Linked DNA regions of Homo sapiens: region 1 is linked to region 2. Evidence: promoter capture Hi-C in human tissues and cell types (Jung and others, 2019). All regions are on one chromosome and are shown on one strand. Each heading gives the region's core, a stretch centred on a gene start or on the middle of the fragment in contact. The rest is flanking DNA. Distances are from core to core; before and after follow the strand shown. Region 1 overlaps SRRM2 (serine/arginine repetitive matrix 2). Region 2 holds the start of PRSS21 (serine protease 21).

The links. The method cuts DNA at HindIII sites, captures the fragments that hold promoters and counts their contacts. A contact is called where the count stands out against the background at its distance.
Region 1: a fragment that was not itself captured here is called in contact with the fragment with the promoter of PRSS21 in region 2 in 3 of the 25 tissues and cell types used here (IMR-90 fibroblasts, mesendoderm cells and thymus).

Annotation. Positions count from the first base shown.
Region 1 is chr16:2,764,380-2,769,049 of GRCh38, reverse strand. It overlaps SRRM2 (serine/arginine repetitive matrix 2), which reads right to left. Exons shown (of 15, transcript NM_016333.4): 11 at 789-4,670; 12 at 1-53. Among named protein-coding and RNA genes, the nearest start is that of ELOB, 11 kb to the left of the region's middle. RefSeq lists an enhancer at 1-38. The HindIII fragment of the contact is 3,944 bases long and covers 1,289-4,670 here.
Region 2 is chr16:2,814,191-2,818,529 of GRCh38, reverse strand. PRSS21 (serine protease 21) reads right to left here and starts at 1,293. Exons shown (of 6, transcript NM_006799.4): 1 at 1,198-1,293; 2 at 1,074-1,100; 3 at 564-729. The coding sequence starts at 1,261. RefSeq lists silencers at 976-1,035, 1,146-1,425 and an enhancer at 3,091-3,591. The HindIII fragment of the contact is 10,567 bases long and covers 1-2,941 here.

The sequences.
Region 1 (4,670 bases), core at 2,011-4,510, 51 kb after region 2:
GAGGACGTCCCTCTCGAACAGCCTCCTTTGGGGCTGGGGTGGGGCTGGGGACCCTGTGGGAGGAGAGGAGTGTCACAAGGAGACAAGCTGCCCCAGCCCCAACCCTACCTTCCTTGGCCTGGAGGAACGGCAGTGGGGGGAGGGGTGCCTGAGAAAGGCGCTGGGAGCTCTCCGAGCCACGTGAGCCAGCAATTCTCTGGAGAGCAGTGGTGCGAGCTGACCCAACCTCTGCTAACAGAAGCAACAGGCTGGGGCCCGCAGCATAAGGGATCAAGGTTAAACCTCAAGAATGTCCCTGATGGAGGAATAAGGCCTCTGGGCTCAGGTGTGGAAGCTGAAGCTGGGTAGTCTCCTTCCTCGGAGAGCCGCAGCTTGGGGAGGCCCCTGTGAGTGCAGGTTGGCTGGGGAAGGGGCCGTCCTGCCTGGAGGCAGGGAGAGGGATGGGATGACCTCTGAAGATCCTTCCAGCCCAGGGAGTTCCTCTTGAGGTCTAACTGCCATCCCTCCTGCTGTAAAATTAAGTCCATTTCCTCTAGTTCTGTCCTCTGTAGAGACGGAAAACTTATCATTATCCTCTAGAGAATGAACCTTCGGAGACTTTTATCTGTCCCATTCCTCCTCCCTCCGCCCCCTGCCCCAGCATTCTCTTCTACCCCCAGCTTGAGGGTCAAGGTCCCCATACCTCCTCCAAGAGCCAAGCACCTGTGACATGGTTTCTCCCTCCCCACTCCCCAACCCATCCCCAATACCTCCCCCACTGAAGATTTCTAAAAGTCAAGCTCCCTCACCTCTTCAGTGCCACCTCAGGTTGCACAGGAAGGCTAGAGCCCTCTGAGTCACTAGAACTGGAGCCAGAGGAGGAGGAGGACGACGACGACGATGATGAAGAAGAGGAGGAGCTAGAGGACGACGACGACGAGGAGGAACTCCGCCGCTCCTTTGCTGGCTGCAGGGCGGCTAATGCAGAAGGCTGCTGGGCCCCAGTAGAGGCAGGTGGCTCCCCCACATCAGAGTGGGGCACCCCAGGGGCAGGGACAGAGAGCATGCCATTGTGATCACCAGCAGAGGACGTGGTCGTTGCCACTGCCCCAGAGGAAAGGGACTGAGACCCTGCTACAGGGGTGGTCTGGGCAATCAAACAACGGGATTGGTCTGAAAAAGCAGAAGGCACAGGAGACCTCGGCTGATCCTGTGCTGGAGGGAGAAGAGACTGTGAAGGAGCCTGGCCCATTCTAGAGGAAGGGGAGGGAGCCCGTTCAGAGGTCATCCTAGATTGGCTTGGGGCAGACGGTGGTGTTCTGGACCTAGCTCGGTCAAGGAGCGGTGGTGAGGTTCTGCCACTGACACGCTCGTAGGCAGAAAGGGGCACCCTGGGGCTGGTGAGGTTTGCACCAGACAATGCTGGAGCCATCCTAGCACTGGTGAGGCTCGCGGGGGCCAAGGCTGCGGCGGTTCTGGAGCCGGCAATATTCACAGGAGCTGTGGCATGTGCAGACCGAGGACCCACCAGGTTTGCAGAGGCTGGAGCCTGTGGTGTTCTGGAGCTGGAGGGATAGTTTGCAGCAGTTGGTGGTGTGCCAGAGCCTGTGAGACTCAGAGCTGCCAAGGCAGCTGGGGTTCTGGCCCCTGCTAGGTTCACAGCTGGGGCTGTGGGAGTGCGAGGGTCAGCCAGGTTCACAGCCGAAGGTGCCACCGCTGTTCTGGGGCTGGCCAAGTTCATGGCCGCTGCTGCAGCTGGCGTTCGAGAGTCAGCCAGGTTCACTGCTGTTGGAATGGCAGGTGTCCTGGCGCTGGCTAGGTTCATGGCTGCCGCAGAGGCTGCAGGAATCCTGCTGGCAAGGTTGGCTGCTGGTGCGGTTCTGAGACTCATGAGAGGCACCGGGGCTGGAACCTGGGACATTCTTGCAGCAAGGCCAGCAGCAGACATGGACGGAGGAGGCCGAGCGGTGCCAAGACTGATAGCTGTCAGGGCAAGTGCAATCCTGGACTGAGCATGATTTTCTGGCACAGATGTTCTCTGGTGGTCAGGTATTCGGGGACCTGGACCATCCATCATGGAGCCGCCGGCTTGCTGCAGGACAGACATGGGTGTTCTAGAGCTGCCAAGGGGTTCAAGCATTCCAGGTGATCTGCAGCGATCAAGAGGTGTTGGGGACATGCTAGGACGACTGAAGCAGCTCATTCTGGAACTGTTGAGTGCTACTGGAGGTGTCCGTGAACCAGAATGATTTCTTGTTGCTGGAGGAGTAGCAGATCGTGAACGATCAGAACTACTTCCAGATGCAGAACGCCTGCGGATGGCTGGAGGAGATCTTGTTAAGGACCGTTTACCCCGAGCTGTTCGTGGAGTACGGGATCTGGAGCGGCGGCGGATAGCAAGTGGTGAGCGACTTCGAGAACGTTTGCGTGGTAACAGTGGCGTTCGAGATCTAGAGCGGCGCCGAATAGCTGGAGGTGTCCGGGACCTAGAGCGGCGGCGTGTCACTGGTGAGGTTCGAGAGCGGGACCTTCTTCGAGTTACTGGAGATGTGCGAGATCGAGATCTCCTTCGGGTGACCGGAGATGTTCTGGATCTTGATCTTCTGCGAGTGATAGGCGAAGTTCTGCTTCGAGATCGCCTCCTGGTTACTGGTGGAGTCCTGGATCTGGACCTTCTGCGAGTCACTGGTGGAGTTCTAGAACGGGAGCGGCGGCGTGTTGTTGGCGTTCTAGACCTTGAACGACGGCGGGTTACTGGTGGCGTTCTGGATCTGGATCGCCTTCTGCTCACTGGGGATGCTCTTGACCGGGATCTTCGTCGAGTCACTGAAGTCCTGGACCTTGACCGTCTCCGGCTGACTGGTGAAGTTCGAGATCTGGACCTACGTCGGCTTATCAGGGGGGTTCTGGACCTGGATCGCCGGTGAGTGGCTGGAGAGGCTCGAGATCTAGAGCGTTTCCACGGGGCTGGTGATGTGCGTGAGCGAGAACGCTTCCGACTGGTTGGGGGTGTCCGAGAGCGGCCTCTTCGGCGTCGAGAGGAGGTCCGGGAACTTTCCTGCCGGGCAGGTGACCTTGAGTGATAACCAGAGCCTCCCCTCCGCCGCCGAGTAACCCGCGACCTTGACCGGCTCCGCTGTCTTCGCCGAGAGGTTGACTGAGAAGATCCAGACCTATCTCGACGTCGGGTTGTTCTTGTTTTCTCTCTCCTTGAGCGGGAACGGGACCTCTGGAGTCCACGAGGCTTTGGCGAAGGAGAGCGGCCTCTCCTTGAGGTTGTCTTAGTGCGTGGAGATGAAGCTGAGCGCCGTCGGCGTGAAGACCTCGATTTTTCGGCTGGCTCCGGGGAAGACACTGAGGGACTTCTCCGGTGCCTTGGGGGAGTTCTAGAGCGAGTTTCTGGTGAGGATGAGGCAGAGCGGCTTCTACGGGACAGTCTGGCCTTCCTTGTTAGCTCCGGAGATGATCGAGAGCTGCGACGTCGAGGTGGTGTACGAGACTTGGTCTTGGGCTCTGGTGATGACCTGGAACCTCTGCGAGCAGTTCTGGATTTGGGCGGATGTTCAGGAGAGGACTCGGTACTGCTGCTTCCTTCAGGAGAAGGGCCTCTGCCTTTGCTTGATGAACCTGATCTGCTTCGTCTGGGAAGGGCCCGAGGGGCTGGAGCTTTAGGTTCAGGAGAGGAATCAGAACCACTCTGTGCCCTGGGTGCTGCTCTTGGCTTATCTTTCACTTCAGGGGAGGAACCAGACCTACTGCGCCGAGGGGATAGTCGAGATTTGCTGTCAACCTCTGGAGATGATCCAGACCGACTCCTCTGCCGAAGTGGGGTTCTTGTCTTGGCTTTAGAATCTGGAGAAGAGTCTGACTCACTTCTTTCCTGAGGGGATGCACTGGGTTTCACATCAAGTTCTTGAGAGGATCCCGAACGACTTCTCTGCCCCAGGGGAGTCCGAGCCACAGTTTTCTGATCAACTGATGATTCTGACCCGCTTCTTTCTCTCTGGGGGGTAAGACACTTGTTGTTGAGCTCTGGGGATGATGGAGAACGACTCCTCGGCCTAGGAGTCTGAGGCAAAGCTTTCGGTTCTGGGGAAGAATCACATTCGCTTCTCCCTCTAGATGGCGTTCTAGGTATATCTTTCATTCCAGGAGAGGACCCAGACAGGCTGTGCCTCGAGGGAGTCCCAGACCCATCTCTAAGTCCTGGAGAAGACCCAGACCTGCTTCTCCTTGATGGAGTTCTGGGTAAACCATCTTTCATTTCAGGAGAAGATGCAGAACTACTTCTTTCTCTCGAGGGTGTTCTGGGTACAGCATCAAGCACAGGTGAAGAGATGCTCTGATTTGAAGACATCCCTGCCTTTTCCACTGCATCTGGGGATAACTCAGAACTGCTGTGTCCAGAGGATCTTGTCGATTGTTCTTTCATGTCTAGAGATGGATCTGTTTCCAGCTGATTAAGAAACGGTCCATTCAAATCTTCTTTAACCTCAGAAGAAAATCCAGTATTCATTTCTGTACCAAGTGGGCCTGAGTTTCTAAATTCTAAAGGTGATCCAAAGCTGTTCTCCCTGAGTGGGGAGTTAGACAGTTCTTTATGTTCTGGAGAAAAATGTGGCCCACCCCAAGATGAGGCCATTGAAGGGACTTCTACTGCTTCCAAAGAAGCCTGTGACTGGCTCTGATCA
Region 2 (4,339 bases), core at 44-2,543:
CAGACCACAACCAAAGTCCTAGGACCTGCTCCTGCAGCAGAAGGGTGGGGTCTTGTCACCTCCCAGAGCTGTCCCAAGGAGCCTTGCATTGAGCCAAGGCCTCCAGGGGCACCCCCATGCAGCCCAAGGAGGAATGGGGAGATGCACCACGCCAATGTGGGATTGGCAGGATGGAGTCCACACAGCGGCCCGGGGGTGCTGGCCTTGGCTCAGTGCCCCACACTGTACCGCACCGTCCACCAGGAGGGGGGATGAGGGTGGGATGGTCAGTGGTGAACTTTGGGTTGAAAGAAAAAGGGAGAGAATACCCAAAAGTGTGTGGAAATGTTCTGGAAGAACATTCTGGAATAACCTGAACAGGGTTCCCTCCAGGAGACCCAAAGGGAACTGGAGTGGGTGTAACCGGCTGCAGCACAGCCTGGGGCTCAGGAGAACACCAGGCCGCATCCACGCACAACTTTCACGCCCAAGTCTGGCATCAGACCAGAGGTAAAGTTCGGTGGCACTCCCTCCAGCCCTGTTCCTGCCCGTCCCCGCACCCCTCCGTTCGCACCCCCACTCACGTTTCAAAGCAGTGCGCCGCCGTGAGTGCCCAGCGGTGGCTGAGCAGGCTCACTCCGCATACGTGGGAATCCCACAGGCGCAGGCTCCCCTGCCACGGCCAACGCCCGAGTTCGGCGTCCTCTCCACCCACGATGCGCGACGTGATGACCCGTCGGCCGCATGGTCCTCGGATGGTCAGAGGAACTGCTGAGCCGCGGGAGGCAGCCCCCCAAGCCCGACCTCTCCCTTTCTCCCCTTCAACCCCGTCCGGGAAAGCACGTTTTTGCCCACCCAGGGTCCCCTCGCGTGTGTGCAGCAGGAAGTAGGTGACACTGGAGATCCTCCCACGTGCTCTGCAGGGCCCGCCCATCCCCCTCCAGCGTCCGTTAGTTACTTTCCACGCCAACAGAGTTCTCGATCCCGGGGGCGGGGGCGAGAGAGCAGTAAAGGCCCCCCTCTACCCCCTCACCGCCCCCCGTCCACCTCGGCCCAACGGCCCTGGCAGGAATCGCGCGTCCTGGGCGCCCTACCTGATAACGGCGCCGCCTCCTGCGACTCTGCGGGAGACAAGAAGTGACTCCCCGCGGCCTCCACCTCCCGTCCTCCCCACCGCTCCCCCGCCTCCCCATCCCGCCAGCAGCGCCCCGAGCTCACCCGGCTTCCTGAGTCCAGCCCGAGCCAGCAGCAGCGCCAGCAGCAGCGCCCCGCGCGCGCCCATGGCCTCCTCTCCCGCGGCCTGACGCCCCCTCTGCCTCCTCTCGCGCCGGGCCCGGGGCGCCCCCTGGGGGCGGGGCGGGGTGGGAGCTCTGCCCTCTACTCCCAGCTTCACCCTCCTGGGCCCAAGGGCTGTTTGGGGCCTCTCATGCCTGGCAGCGCCCTGGCTTTCAGCCCCTAGGGGCGGGTCTTCAACCACACTTCTTGATGTGGCCCAGACCCGGTGGACCCCACAGTCCCTTTCTTGTCTGCAGCCCAGGGGTCCCGGCTGCCCTCTTGGTGACCCCGTCCTCCACCTACAACCTCCTCCAGCACCAAGGGCCTGGCCCTGAGCCAGGAGTCCCCTTAAAGCCTGGGGACCCCCTGAAGGCCGGGTGGGGCCTAGAGGCATGGCTGCTCCTTCATGGGACCTTCTTGGGAAAACAGTGGTCCTCGGCCCGTTCCACCCAGAATGGGGATCTCCCCAAGTCTCTGCCCAGGCTGTCCCCACTGCGGGCTCCCGCTGGGCTCTCTTCACTTCTCTGGAACAATTTTTTTTTTTTTTGAGATGGAGTTTCGCTCTTGTCGCCCAGGCTGGAGTGCATTGGCGTGATCCCAGCTCACTGCAACCTCCACCTCCTGGGTTCAAGCGATTCTCCTGCCTCAGCCTCCCAAGTAGCTGGGGTTACAGGCGCGCGCCAGCACACCTGGCTCATTTTTGTATTTTTAGTACAGACGGGGTTTCGCCATGTTAACCAGGCTGGTCTCCAACTCCTGACCTCAGGTAATCCGCCCACCTCGGCCTCTCAAAGTGCTGGGATTACAGGCATGAGCCACCGCGCCCAGCTGCAATTCCACTTCTGAGCATACACCCAAAAGAACTGAAAGGAAGGTCTTCAAGAGATATTTGTTTTTGGTTTTTTGGGGGGATTTAGTTTTGTTTGTTTTTGAGATGGAGTCTTGCTCCATCGCTCAGGCTGGAGTGCAGTGGTGCGATCTTGGCTCACTGCAACATCTGCCTCCTGGGTTCAAGTGATTCTCCTGTCTCAGCCTCCAGAGTAGCTGGGATTAGAGGCACCTGCCACCATGCTTAGCTAATTTTTGTATTTTTAGTAGAGATGGGGTTTCGCCATGTTGGCCAGGCTGGTCTTGAACTTCTGACCTCAGGTGATCTGCCCTCTGCGGCCTCCCAAAGTGCCAGGGTGAAGGTGTGAGCCACCCCACCCAGCCTTCAAGAGATATTTGTATACCCATGTTCATAGCAGGATTATTCACAGTAGCTGACATGAAAGCAACCCAAGAATCCATTGACCACTGAACAGATCAGTGAAAATGGGAATGTACAACCAGAACCTGGGAATCCCGCCTCCCTCAACTTGAAACTTGGGAATAGCGTATTCTACTTTCAACACTTGCACTAGTGGAAGGTTAATTACATGAAAGATTAGGCAAAATGTGTGGTTAGGCGTTCTGGTTTTCCAATAAAAGTATTAAGTTTCTTTGGGGAAAGTACAGATAAAATGCTTAGCACAGAGCATGGTACCAACGGGAACTCAATGAGGGCGCAGCGGGTGTGTGGGAGCTTCGGGTTTCAGGAGCACAAGGCTGCGGTGCCTTCCCTCAGGGCCTCCTTCCCCAGCAGCAGCTGCTCAAGGACAAGTCACATGCACAGCCTGGCCTTGGCCTGCTGGGTTGGGGCAAAGGTCCCTGGGCTTCTGATCCTGCCCCTCTCCCAGCCAGCAGGACGTTCCCTCTGGTTCCTGAGTCCCAGGGATCCGCTGAGGCCCCTAGGAGGTGTCAGCTCCTGGTTTTGCCCAGGGTCTCAGTCAGGCCAGTCCTACCCGGAGATCTGAGCCAGGGACTCAGGTTCTTGCCTCCAGTGAGGCTGGGGGCTTCCCGCAGAGGCCAAGCCTGGCCCGGGGGCTGCAGGGAGGCCCTGGCTGCTGCATGGGCTGCAGATGGAGACTCTCTTGTCTGCTGTGCCTCAGGCTGCAGAGTCACAGAGGGGTCTTCCCAAGCCCCACACCTGGAGGGCAGGGAGGACAGGGACTTGTGGTCCTAACCCGACTCCTGACACATAAGGGCCAGCCGGCCCGGAGCCACCTCTGCGGGCAGGAGAAGGCCTCATTGTTCCCTTCTCCTGGCAGAATGAGGACTGGGGCGTGCCCGGGGCAGGAAATAAATGCTCAGTAAATCCCTCTCTTGGGAGCCCTGATCCCAAGGGACAAAGGGCCTGTGTTGAGTCTCCCTGGGCACGGGCTCGGGGCCAGCACTTGGGCCATGGCAGATGGAGGGTGGGAGGAGGGTGCCTCCCACCAGGTGGGCTTCTTCCCCAGGTCAGGCATGCAGGTGAGGAGCGTCCTCGTGTGTGCATGCCCCCTGCGTGCAGGAGAGGCTGGGCGGGTGTGTGTGTCTGGGTGTATGTGTGTGCATGCATCTTCAAGTGCACGTGTGTGAACGACCATGTGTGATCCCCGTTCTCGTGCCATCTGAACATCCCCTCCAGTGTGCATTTGGGTGAGTCCTGGCGCCCCTCTGGCCAGGCTGCTAACTATCCCTTCCACCAAGTCCCCTCAACCTCAGCTGGTGCTTCTGGAGTCCTGGCCCAAGTGACTCTCCTTCTGGGCGCCAAACCCTGTCAGCCTGGAGTTAGAAAGAAGGCCCCTGAACTGCCAGCAAAACATGGAAAGACAGGTCGGGTGCCATGGCTCAAGCCTGTAATCCCAGCACTTTGGGGAGCCGAGGCGGATGGATCACAAGTTCAGGAGTTCGAGACCAGCCTGGCCAACATGGTGAAATCCTGTCTCTACTAAAAGTACAAAAAATAGCTGGGCATGGTGGTGGGCACCTGTAATCTCAGCTACTCTGGAGGCTGAGGCAGGAGAATCATTTGAACCTGGGAGGCAGAGGTTGCGGTGAGCCGAGATCGCACCATTGCACTCCAGCCTGGGTGAGAGGGCGAGAGTCCGTGTTTAAAAAAAAAAAAAAAACAAAAAACAAAACAAAACAAAACATGGAAAGGTGCCCTTAGGCTGGGCTAGCGCGAGAACACAGCCCGCTTTGTGGCACCTCCAAGCTCCTGCCTCTGAGAGCTGTGCTGGCC